Regions from separate parts of the Homo sapiens genome. Here region 1 is linked to region 2. The links are contacts of gene promoters, found by promoter capture Hi-C in blood cells and fetal thymus (Javierre and others, 2016). All regions are on one chromosome and are shown on one strand. The core of a region is centred on a gene start or on the middle of the fragment in contact, and the rest is flanking DNA. Distances in the headings are between cores, read along the strand shown. Region 1 overlaps HDX (highly divergent homeobox). Region 2 holds the start of HDX (highly divergent homeobox).

Evidence for each region. The method cuts DNA at HindIII sites, captures the fragments that hold promoters and counts their contacts. A CHiCAGO score of 5 or more calls a contact.
Region 1: a contact is called between a fragment that was not itself captured here and the fragment with the promoter of HDX in region 2, in 1 of 17 cell types (monocytes). The highest score is 8.8, in monocytes.

What each region holds. Positions count from the first base shown.
Region 1 is chrX:84,366,397-84,373,103 of GRCh38, forward strand. The region is part of intron 5 of HDX (highly divergent homeobox); the gene reads right to left. Among named protein-coding and RNA genes, the nearest start is that of HDX, 130 kb to the right of the region's middle. The HindIII fragment of the contact is 448 bases long and covers 4,399-4,846 here.
Region 2 is chrX:84,500,286-84,507,027 of GRCh38, forward strand. It overlaps HDX (highly divergent homeobox), which reads right to left and starts at 2,168. Exons shown (of 11, transcript NM_001177479.2): 1 at 2,057-2,168. RefSeq lists a silencer at 2,192-2,341. The HindIII fragment of the contact is 2,765 bases long and covers 1-2,721 here.

The sequences.
Region 1 (6,707 bases), core at 3,373-5,872, 130 kb before region 2:
GCCATAGTGCCCAAAGTAATTTATAGACTCAATGCTATTCCCATCAAGCTACCATTGACTTTCTTCACAAAATTAGAAAAAACTACTTTAAATTGCATATGGAAGCAAAAAAGAGCGCATGTAGCCAAGACAATCCTAAGCAAAAAGAACAAAACTGGGGGCATCACGCTACCTGACTTTAAACTATACTACAAAGCTACAGTAAGCAAAACAGCATGGTACTGGTACCAAAACAGACAAATAGACCAATGGAACAGAACAGGGGCCTCAGAAATAACACCACACATCTACAACCAACTGATCTTTGACAAACTTGACAAAAACAAGCAATGGGGAGCAACCCCATTAAACAAGCAACACCCTATTTAATAAATGGTGTTGGGAAAACTTGCTAGCCATATGCAGAAAACTGAAACTGGATCCCTTCCTTACACCTTATACAGAAATTAACTCAAGATGGATTAAAGACTTAAATGTAAGACCTGAAACCATAAAAACTACAGAAGAAAACCTAGGCAATACCATTCAGGACATAGGCATGGGCAAAGACTTCATGACTAAAACACCAAAAGCAATGGAAACAAAAGCCAAAATTGACAAATGGGATCTAATTAAACTAAAGAGCTTCTGCACAGCAAAAGAAACTATCCTCAGAGTGAACAGGCAACCTACAGAATGGGAGAACATTTTTGCAATCTGCCCAGCTGACAAAGGGCTAATATCCAGAATCTACAAAGAACTTCAACAAATTTACAAGAAAAAATCAAACAACTCCATCAAAAAGTGGGTGAAGGATATAAATAAACACTTCTCAAAGAAAGACATTTATGAGGCCAACAAACATATTTAAAAAAAGCTCATCATCACTGGTCATTAGAGAAATGCAAATCAAAACCACAATAAGATACCATCTCACACCAGTTAGAATGGCAATCATTAAAAATTCAGGAAACAGCAGATGCTGGAGAGGATGTGAAGAAATAGGAACGCTTTTACACTGGTGGTGGGAGTGTAAATTAGTTCAACCATTGTGGAAGACAGTGTGGCAATTACTCAAGGATCTAGAACCAGAAATACCATTTGACCCAGCAATCCCATTACTGGGTATATACCCAAAGAATTTTAAATCATTCTACTGTAAAGACACATGCACACTTGTGTTTACTGCAGCACTGTTCACAGTAGCAAAGACTTGCAACCAACCCAAATGTCCATCAAGGATAGACTGGATTAAGAAAATGTGGCACATATATACCATGGAATACAAGGCAGCCATAAAAAAGGATGAGTTCATGTCCTTTGCAGGAGCATGGATGAAGCTGGAAACCATCATTCTCTGCAAACTAACGCAGGAACAGAAAACCAAACACCGCATGTTCTCACTCATAAATGGGAGTTGAACAATGAGAACACATGGACACAGGGAAGGGAACATCACACCACTGAGGCCTGTTGGGGTGTGGGGGTAAGGGAGGGATAGCATTAGGAAAAATACCTAATGTAGATGACGGGTTGATGGGTGCAGCAAACCACCATGGCATGTGTATACCTATGTAACAAATCTGCACGTTCTGCACATGTATCCCAGAACTTAAAGTATAATTTAAACATTAAATAAATATTGTTAAGCTGCCTTTGAATGAAGGCAGAAATGCATGATGGTCCCTTTTTTCCTCTATCTTTTTAAATATTGGGTTTTATTCTACTGTGTAATTTCTGCCAATTTAGTGAAAACATAGCTTCTTATTTTGTTTTCTTGAAGCATAAGGAGGATTAATCATTTTATATGCTTATTGAACATATGCATTTATTTTTATGTTAAATGCTCATTTAAAGAATCATGGTTTTCTTTCTTCTTTATTTTTAAAATTTCTATACTCCTAGTTACCGGAACTGTACTAAACATGTGTTAAAGTGTTGTCTTTTTTACACAATGATATTTTAATCACATTGCATACATTTTTATTATTAGCAAACTTTTACAACTTTAAATTGTGTATGTGACTTTTACAAAATTTTATGCTCCATATATTGTTTCATTCAATTTATTTATTAACACAGTTTCTATCTCCAGTGAAAATGGCTTGTTAACTATATGAGGTGCAATATCAGGTTCTCAAAAGTAAGCCTCTTATGTGACTTTTTCTGGGAAAAAATTAATTTGACTGATGTATTTTTCAAATTGTGGTAAAATATACATAACATTTGCCATTATAAATGCTTTTCAACGTAACATTTGCCATTATAAACCCTTTTCAATCTACAGTTCAGTAGTGTTAAGTATAGTTACACTGTTGTGCCACCCATCTCTAGAACTTTTTCATATCCATTAAACCAGCAGTCCCCAACATTTTTGGCACCAGGGACCAGTTTCATGGAAGACAATTTTTTCCACGGATGAGGGTGGGGTTACCGGGGAGGAGGGTTTCAGGATGAAACTGTTTTACCTCACATCAGCAGGCATTAATTAGATTCTCATAAGGAGTGCACAACCTAGACCCCTTGCATGCACAGTTCACAATAGGGTTCCTGCTCCTATGATAATTGAGTGCCGCCACTGATCTGTCAGGAGGCAGAGCTCAGGCATTAATGCTCATTTGCCTGCTGCTCACCTCCTGCTGTGTGGACTCGTACCAGTCCATGGCTCATGGAGTGGGAACCCTTGCAATAAACTACCCATTTCCCCTCCCCAAACCCCACGCAATGACCATTCTATTAAACCTTCCTTAGCTTAACTACTCTAGATAGCTCATATAAATAAAATAATGAAATATTTGTGTTTATGTAACTGGCTAATTTCACTTAGCATAATGTCCTCAAAGTTTATCTATGTCACAGCATGTGTCAGAATTTCCTTCCTTTGTAAGAATGAATAATATTTCATTGTATGCATGTACCAAATTTTTGTTCATACATTCATTCATTGATGGATATTTAGATTGTTTCCATGTTTTGGCTGTTGTGAATAATGGTATGCATATAGGCATACAAATATCTTTTCAAAACCCTGTTTTTAATTCCTTGGAATATATACCCAGAAGTGGAATTGTTGGATCATAGGGTAATTCTATTTTTCATTTTTTGAGAAACCTCCATACTGTTTTCCCCAGCAGATATACCATCTCACATTCCCACTAACAGTGCATAGAGGTTTTAATTTCTCTATCTCCTCACTAACCCTTGCCATTTTCTGAACATGTGTGCGTGTTTTTGCACCTCTGTGTGTTTTTACAGTAGATATCCTAATTGGTGTGAGGTGAAATCTCATTGAGTCTTTGATTTGCATTTCCCTGTTGATTAGTGATGTTGAGCATCTTTCTATACGCTTGTTGGCTACTTGTACATCTTTTTTGGAGAAGTTCCCATTCAAGTCCTTTGCCCATTGTTTAAATGGGTTATTTGTTTTTGGTATTGAGTTGTAGGAGTTGTAAAAATATATTCCTGATATTAACATCCTTCAATAAGAAAGTTATCTTTTACATTCTAATAGTTTCTGATCCTTGACTTTCTGAAATGTATCTTTGTGGTAGTTAATTTAATGTGTCAATTTGACTGGGCTAAGGGGTGCCCAAGCATTTGGTCAAACATTATTCTGGGTGTGTTGTGAAGATGTTTCTGAATTAGATTAACATATAAATCAGTAGACTGAGTTAAGTAGATTGCCCTTCCTAATGTGAATGGGCCTCATCTATTTAATTGAAGACTGGAACTGAACAAAAAGCCTGAGTATGAAAGAATTCCTCTTGCCTGATTGTTGAGGTGGGACACTCGTGTTTTCTATCCTTTGGACTCAGACTGAAGCATCGGTTCTTCTTGGATCTTGAAGCTGCTGGATTTGGGACTGGAATTTACTGGACTTGGCTTTCCTCGTTCGCAGGCCTTTGGACTGAGACCAATACTACATATCATCTTTCCTTGGTCCCCAGCTTGCAGACTGAGGATTGTGAGACCTCTGCTTTCACAATAGTGGGAGACAATTCTTTATCTCCATCCAATCTATGAGTTCTGTTTCTCTGGAGATCGCTGCCTAATATAAACCACTTACCATCACAAAACTACTTGAAATTTATTCTTGAAAAGAACTTCGTTCAATCTTACAGAATAGGGGTCTGGGCAAGAGTTACCTTTTGGCTTTCAGTCTCTGGAGTTCTGGCATCCAAATCCCTGACCCACTCCTTTCCAAATATACCATATGTGAGAAAGTGCTGTCATTGTCAGTTTATTTATTTTAAAAAGATCAACAGTGAATTCTAGAGTTTCAACTGACATTGCTCGGCTAACATTTTACTTGTCTTACAAGCAGTGTCAATCACAATGCTCTGCTAGGGAAATGTCATACAAATAGAAAATTTCTACTGATAAGCAGAAGTGGAACAAGACCCCCTATTATCATAGCTAAGCTTAAAAGCATTGAATGAAGATAGCTACACTTCTTAAGGAATTCCCTTGAAAAATTAACTAATCCTCTTTGGACAGAATTGAATAAGTTATTTTTATTCTAAACCTAGCAGGAAGTATCTTTAATATGAAATAGAAGAATTGTTGGTAAGCCTCTGTATATAATTGCAAACTTGTCAAAAACAAAACAAAACAAAATATCACATGTAAGGTCCATCATTTCAACATATATGTACAACACTTCTATTCTCCAGCAACAAACATTTAAAGCCAGAAATAGCATAGGTTTTTATTATGTGGAGCACATCGTAAGGGCTTACAACTGGTAACAAATAGAAGCTGAAAATTTTCTCCTCAGTGCAAAACAGTGGGAATCCAGAAAATCCTGTATTTGAATCTCAGTTCTGTCTCTTCCTAGTTGTGAAAAAGTGACTTAATCTCTCTCTGAAGCTTATTTTCATTATGTTAAAATGGGCATAATTCTACCCACCTCAGAGGATTGCTAAAAAAGATTAAATGAGAAAACACATGTAAAATAAATCAGGTTCATATTCATAGCAACCTAGTAAACATGAGCCTTCTTCTGAAACCTACCCCACATACACACACCTGTATCCTAAATGGGAAGAAAAATACAGGTGCTATGAGGGGAGACTAACTTAACAGGAGAATCACAGGTACCTGAGAGAATAAACTGCTTTTTTAGAAAGAGCAGCAATAGCTGAGCATGCTTGGATTTTGCTCCAGCTTCTTTGTGAAGGGCATCTCGTGCTGGCTATTGTTTTGTTCTTTTAGATATTATACATTTCTGTATATTTAAAGCAGGGTGTCACAGCCCCCATGGAACACAGATGTCACTCACATGACAGCTAGCATGTGGAAAAGGTCTGATTTCCTGCCTTGCTGGTATCATCATATCACCATTCAAAGTATCTCAGGTTCACATTTGATGCTTATTGCCTATTTTTATGTGCTCTCTGAGGAGAATTATTCGTTAATGAAATTAAATGTGGGGGCCTAGTACCCTGCTGCGAAGTTCTAGAATTGAACAGCAATCTGCGGCAAGCTCCTGCAATATGGCATCTGGTTGGCTGCCCACTTTCACCATATCTACTGTTAACTTCCTACAGTGATTAGGCACCAGTTATATGTCTCCATTGTTTAGTGATGAGAAAATTGTGGAGAGTTTGGTTAAAAAATAAATCAAAATAGGAAATTTACAAGAAAATGTAATTTGAAAGAATTCTATTGTTGATACAATAAAATAAATCTGTAGATGTCTTCGAATGGCCAGATATAATAAGACAGAACAGCAGCTGTTGAGACAGAAAGAAGTGGGAGTCAAAGAATTATAGAAAAAGAGGGTAGTCATAGTAATAAACTAGGTAGTTCAGCACTAAGGAAAACTTGCATAATTTTCCTTGCATAGCTCTCACAATCTTAAGCCAACATCAGAAAGTGCTGTTACATTTTAAAATATTAAGTATTTTTTTGGCATCATGTACAGTCATCAGGTTACCCATATATATATTTTATATGCAACTTTAAGACATGATTAAAATAACTTTTTGCATAGCCTTAATTAAAAAGAAAAATCAGTGGTAAACCTTTCACTATACAGGATCATTTTGTCAGCTGGCCACTTCACATTATTGAGTATCTACTAGGCATGTGGTACATAAGCACACAGCAAGTTTACATTTGCTTTCACTAAAACTGATGTTTGACCAAGGATTCTGTAATATAAGTTTGAAACCTGCTAGAGTTTTGCATTTTAATTTTTTTCATTTAATCTCATTGCATTGTGTAAGTTCTTTTTTGTTCTTACAGTTTTAAAAAATATTTTAATCTTACAGATCTAAAGCACAACAAATAACTAAAAGCGAGAATTGTTCTTGTAAAATGTAAACTCCCAAAGGTTTATCATAGATATGACTTAGCTGTGTTCTTATCTGTGAATGGGAAAGCTTCTGCAATGTCTACAGAACAATTATTATCACAAAAATTCAGAACTTGATTTACAGTAGGTGAGAGACAAGGCAGTTTAAATTAATAAAATGTTTATATAGCAGAAAATTATCCTGCCATCTCCATCTCTACCCCTAAATCTCCTCAGGTGCTAAGAAATTATAATTACTTTGAAAATGTATATAAAATACTCATAGTTTTAAACTGATAGTGTTAAGATAATCCATGTGATTAAATTGTCTAAATATAGAAATATTTTATTTGCATTAAAATATGTCATTTTTAATAACTTGTGGGTTAATTCATAAAAGCTGATGTTTTCAGAATAGATTAAAACAAAA
Region 2 (6,742 bases), core at 918-3,417:
TTTCCCAGGAAATTGTTTTCTAGGGGAAAAAAAAAGAACATATATAGCTACAGCTATTTTGATTATTCAGTTAGGTGCTATGGGCAGATAATAAAGAAATGGATGTCATGGTCCCAACCCTTAAGGAAGGGTTTAAAATCCATTTGAGGATTCCAGTCTAACACACACACACACACACACACACACAACAACAACAACAACAACAATAACAAAGGAGACAATACAAAGCAGCCTACAAGCAACTAACAAAGACAATAATTGACGTGGGAATTCTAGGAAAAGTGAGGTCAGTAACACTTGCATTAGATTAATTTGGAAGGCACTTGTGGAGGGGTGGAATTTGAGTTGAGTTTCCAAAGTGGGTAAGATGTGAATTATGTAGAAGGAGGACATCCTACGTGGAGGGGACAGTAATGGTATAAGGAGCAAAGATATAAAGGTAGATTGTTCTCACTAACTGAACATTAAAGAGAGTTGTGCCCTGAAGAATAAAGGAAAATAAGGCTCCTGCATTACAATGAGGCCAGATTATGAAGTTCTTTAAAATTCGGGTGGAATTAGGCTTGAAACAATAGAAAATAAGGGGCCAAGAATATGTTGGTTAAAGAAAGTGATTTGTTGAAAGAAGTGTTCACAGACCACTAAGGATTTGGGGCACAGGTGAAGACTGCCTAGGAAGCTCCTACAGTGACTACATGGGTGCTGATGAGAATTTAGATTGTAAAGGAGGAACGTGTGAGAAGGCTTTCAAAGGAAAATTTACCAGTACTTGATAATCCCTTAACTATGAGAAATAGAGAAAAATCCAGATTCCTCTGTAAAATTGTCAGGAGTCTATGATCAGACTGTGGAGGGCAATTAATAACAATACTGTACAATCTATTCATCAATAATAGACAGGCAGGTTGTTCTTCATTGTTCCCCACAACTGCTGAGTAATAAAAGCCTTAATATAAGTAATATAACAGCCTTCCCAATGAAGGGGTGCGGGAAAGGGCTTCTCAAAATAATATTTGACTTCAGTGATTCTAGCAGAGACACAGAGGAAGAAGATGGACTCAGCACCAAACTTGATATGGAGACTAAATATTTATAAGAGATTGTCCCAAGAAGAGAAAAAGGCAAGAAAGGAAAATTTCTTACTCTGAGCCTCCACAATGGACTTCATTCTGAGTCTTTCCAAAGAATTTAAGGTTCAAAATCATTGTCACCTCAAATCAGAGCTCCTTTAAGATTAAAAGTTAGATTCATTTGAATAATTAGTGTTTATTTTTCCAAACAGTTTCTTATCTGATAAACTTCTATTTCACAAATTCTTCTAGAGTTCATTCCGTTATTCAACATCTAATATCTGGAAATTTAGAATGTGCCTTCTCAAATTTATAAGGCTCATTTTGAAGCTGGATTTACTCAGTAGGCCAGTTTAAACTAAATGGCAGATCTCTCCCCATCAACTGGTGCTTGAAACATCACAAGGCCTGGGATGTTCCCTGGGTCTCTACTTTCCAAATTCAGCACAGAAATGGCTCAGCCCCACCTCTTCCAGTGAAACCGAAACAGCGCCTGTGCAAACTCCACGCCTATTCTCCTCACAGTGACCCACCCCGCCCCCACCAAGGTGCTAATGCGCAGGCGCTACGCTCTCAGTGCCTTTGAGTAGGGCTGTGAGAAATCTACTGTCCAGTGAAATCTAGAAGTGGTAGAATTCAATCCCCTCCTTTCTTCGGAGGCAGAGGCGCCACTTCCTCCTACTACCCGTCCAGAAGCGCGTCCCAAACATCGCTCTCTCTCCGAGCAAGGTCCTTCGCTCTCTGGCAATCCCCATTGTATCCCTATCCGCAGCTCGTTTCTAATCTCACTCAGCCGCCAGCCTTCGCTAGGAGGATAGAGGCACTTGGCTCCCTAGGATCCGCACCAGTTTTTTGTCTGCCTGTTTAGGCCACGGAACCTATGGACCCCCCCACCCCCAACCTCGCCCCAAACTAGGAAAAGCATTATCCCGGTGCTTTGCCCTCCCTCCTTCGCCCTTCTCACCCACTTAGTGTTGAGTGCTTACCTCGGGTGTGGTGCGGTTACGAAAGGAATCAGCGGAACCCAGATCAGGCCGCTGCTGGGGCAGGCGGATTCAGCGAGATTTTTCCTGGGTCTCCAGTGCCGCTTCAGACAATGAAATCAGCGTGTCCGATCATCAATTCTCATCATGATCGTGACGTCACAAAAGACAGCGGCCAATGGGAGCCTGCGATCAGCTCAGGACAGTCCCTGGCCTCAGCCCAGAACCCAAGAGTTGGGAGGGGGGAAGAGAGATGGCTGCCTGCAACTGGACTGCCTCTTCCTCACACAAATCAGCTACATCTACGGCCAGGGCTCTCTATACCTTCCTGAATAGCTGTGAACACCGAGCATCCCTGTGACTATAGTAGTTACATGCCAGCCATTTGAGCAGGTGCTGCCTGGCCTTCCAACTTGACATTGGGTTTTAACAAAATTGTTACATGCTGCCAAAATCAAATGATAGCATAAGGAAATACAGTCCTTTGTGGTCAGTGTTCGATTGACAGGTAAATATTCAGTTTTACTAAAATCAATAAGGTGTCCATCGAGCCTTTAGAATTTTACAGTAAAAGCAAGTGTACTATTATACGTGACTGGTTGGCTCTGATGACTGAGGAAAGAAACTATGGTTTTTATTCATCCAACCTCAATTCCTATTCTGGCAGAAGCTTCTTGGGTGATCACCATTATACCATTCCAGAAAAGAAGTCAAGCCACATGTTACATCATTTAACAGTCACTTGATATACTTCCCAGATTTGCTGGATGCCATGAGAGATATAGAATTCATTGATTCTCTGCTATCATAGAACTTGCAACATCGTTTGGAAGACAAGATTAGCACACAGTAAATATTCACAACAATAAAATAAAGTACATGATCATGTGCTCAGTCATTAACTACAGACAAGAGCTACATTATTTAATTATTGGAGACATCAGTGAGGTGAAAAGTCAGGGAAGCATTTTATGTAATTAAAACTTGAGATGGTTCTTGAATGGTGGATAAGAGCAGATGGAAGTCACCGTCTTAAAGGGGAAAGATAGGCAAAGGTAGAGACGTATAAATTCATATGATGTGAGGAAGCCCATGATGAAATCAGCTTGACAAATAGAGGGCATATGCTGAGGACTAGTGGTAGATGGAATTGGCTAATAATAAAAGCCTTTGAAAATAGGCAGATAACTTTTATTTGATTAAAAGCCACCAAAAGCCATAAAGCATGTGACCTCAATCCTCTATAGTCAATTATCTACAGAGGAGTTTAGGTGATTTTTTAAAACAAAAGCCAGATTATGCTCAACTTCAGATTGTTCAATGGTTTCCTTTCACATATACAATAAAATGCAGATTTCTTACCATGTCCTCAAAGCCCTAAATGATCTGGCCTCCGCCATCTTTCTGACCTCACCTCCTGTCACTCAGCCACTAATTCACAAATATATTAATCTTCTATTTCTCAAACAAGTCAAGCTCATGTCCACAGCAGTGACCCTGTACTGTTGTACTGTCTGATCTTTATATGACTTACTCCATCACTTGATTGAAATCTTTGCTCAAATGCAACCTCTTTAAAGAGGTTTTCCTATTTAAAATTGTGATATCCTTAACACTCTCTATACCCTTTTTTCTGTTTCATTTTTCTTCATAGTATTTATTATTATTAAATGTATTTTATATATTTAGTTATTGCAAATGTAAGCTCTATGAAGGCAGGGATTTTTGTCTGTTTTGTTTATTATTATATCCCTCAAATCTAGAAAGCCTCTAAATACAAAGTAGACAAATAAGTAAGTACGTATTGAATGAATGACTGAAAGCACATTTTTCAAGTCATTAATTTGCATTTTCAGTAACATTGCGATAGGCTGGAGTGAGAGAGACCAGTTAGACAGTTGTAATGCTAACCCAGCTTCTAGGTGACACACCCCTAGATTAGGGTGTTAAAAATGATGAAATATGAGACTTTCAAAGAAGGAATTATATGGGTAAAGTGGAGGATTCAGAAAAAGCCTATTGATAATTGATTAACGTATTCATAAATTACGTTTATGAATTACCTGAAACTGAAGTGATATGAGAAAAAGGATCAGAGTCCCTACCCTTGAAGGGTTTATAATGCAAAGACACAAGAAGACTTGTATGAAATCACAGTACAAATAGAGGCAATTAAATTAATCCAATTTTTCCTTCCTCTTTTCCCCTCTCACTCTGTAGCTAAGCCACTAGTATGTTTGAAGACTGTACCTTCAAATTAGGCCCCAAATCTGAATACTCTGTACCTCCTCTATCACCGTTACACTAAAGTCACTGTAACTTCTAGTTTGAAATACTGCAAAAGCATCTTACATCGTTTATTTTCTTCCACTCTTGTCCTTCTTCAAAAGTTTCTCTTAACATCAGTCAAAATATTCTTTATAAAGTTTGAATCAGACCATATCACTACCTGATTTAAAGCCCTCCAAATGCATCTCATTACATTAACAATAAAGTCCCAAGTCCTTTCTATGGTGTATTTCCCACCATTTGTTCCTGCCCTGGCTCATTATGCTGTAGCTACTCTGGTCTTTTTGGTTATCTGTTTTCTCTCTGGAATGCCTATTTCCTCTTCAGAGACTTTGCATTTGCTATTATTTCTTGGGAAACTCTTTCCCCAGATCTTCACATAGCATACTTCACATAATTCAGGCTGTCTGCTAAAATGTTACCTTCTCAGATGGGACTTCATGGACCAATCAATTTAAAATAGCATTGCCCCACCACCACCACAATTATCTGTCTCCTGTATCTTCTTGCTGTGCTTAATTTTTCTCATATCACTATGGAAAAATACATTATTAGTTTTGTTGGTTAGTTATTTTGCCTTTCCCCAACAGAATGAAAAGTTCAAGGGGGTAGGAAGTTGCCTCTCTTATTACTGTTATATCTCCAGTACCTAGAGTTGTAGTGGTACCTAGCATTAAGTAGGCACTCAATGGGTCTTTGTTGAATGAATAGATAGGGGAGAGCATAGATTGTGTAGTGCAGTAATAGGTATTCAGGGATGAGAGATGTTTTCAATACATGCCTAAGATACCGGTACCTGTCCTGTTCACAATATATCAATTAAAAGCATGTTTATTGAACTTGTAAGTAAAAAGTATCTAAGTAGAATAATTAAACCATGGATATTAACCAAGATTTCAAAGATCTCAAAAGACTCAACAAACAAATGCAATAAAATGAAGTTTGACATGGATAAACAGTAAGTCTTGATTCTAGGTTTACAAAAATCAGTTGCATAAGTACAGGAAGGGCAATAAACACCTAAGTTGGGAAGTTCATCTAAAAATTCTGTAAATTCAATATGAACTGGTATAACAAAGCTGTTAAACAAGATAATTCATACTTAAACTACATTAATAAAAAGTTATTATCTGAATCAAGAGAGTTAAGGGTTCTACTAGTCTCTACCCTAGTCAGACCACACTTGGTCTCTTCTGTTGATTATCCTTATTTTAAAATAAACATTCACAAATAGCTGCATTTAGAGAAGAAAAACCAGGATGATGAGGCATCTAAAAAATACATGATTTGAGGCAAGTCTCCAGGAGCTGAGGATGCTTAGCTTAAAGAGGAGAAGATCTCAAGAATATATAACTACCTTCAAATATTTGAAAGACTGCTGAGCAAAGACAAATGTGACTTATGTTGTGGTTTTCCAGAGGGCACTACCAAGGCCAAAATGGATAACTGATGGGAAAAAAAAGTCTCAGCTTAAAATTCAAGTGTTCAAAAATGATAGAGACTGTTTTGTAAAGTCAAAAGGCCTCAATCACTGGGAATGTTTCAGTGACCATCAGTCAGCAACGTTGAAGGATTATCTATATTGAGTGACTGCTAAAGTTGATTTCAACACAAAATTTACCGATTTTTGGATTATGTCAGAAGGAAGTTAGTCAGGAAAATGCCTTAAAGAAAAAAGTGAGTTTGGTATTTTAAGATTTGGTTTAGTCTGGTGGAGCTGAATCTAGGTTGGGGTACCACTAATAAAAGATAACCAATTTACTGCTCTCCCATTCTTCATTGGGGGAAAAAAACATGTTCACAGTGCATTTTGGGTGAACATAAAACTGCATACACCAAAGAAAGTTCTCCCAACTTAATTTTTTTCTTAATTTTCCAATTAATAAGGAATTTATTCTTAAGTTCATTTTAACCAACACAATCATTTATTGATATATGTGAGACCTGCCTAAATGAGCCCAGAACACAGCTCTAACCATTGGATTGCTAGGTTTAAAAAACTAACTTTCAATCTACTTAAAGTTACATTAATTTTTCTAGTAGAGCTGATTTTCATTAATCAGAGTCTCTATGCTTTGTTTGTAGGTTATTGAGGCTTTTTTATTCACTTCTATTTTTCTTTTCTCTCTTTTTTTTTAATTTTTAGAGACAGGGTGTTGCTCTGTCACTCAGGCTGGAGTGCAGTGGTGCGATCATAGCTCACTACAGCCTCAAACTCATGGACTCAAGTGATCCTTACACCTTGCCCTTCTAAAATATTCATTGTGATTACAGGCCTGAGCCATTGCACCTGGCAGATTTTTACTTTTATTTTGCCCACCTTTTAGGCCTTTTACAGCTTATTGACAGCTCCATTCAAAGTTGTCCACCAAAAAATGATGAGAAAGCTGAAATTAAGTG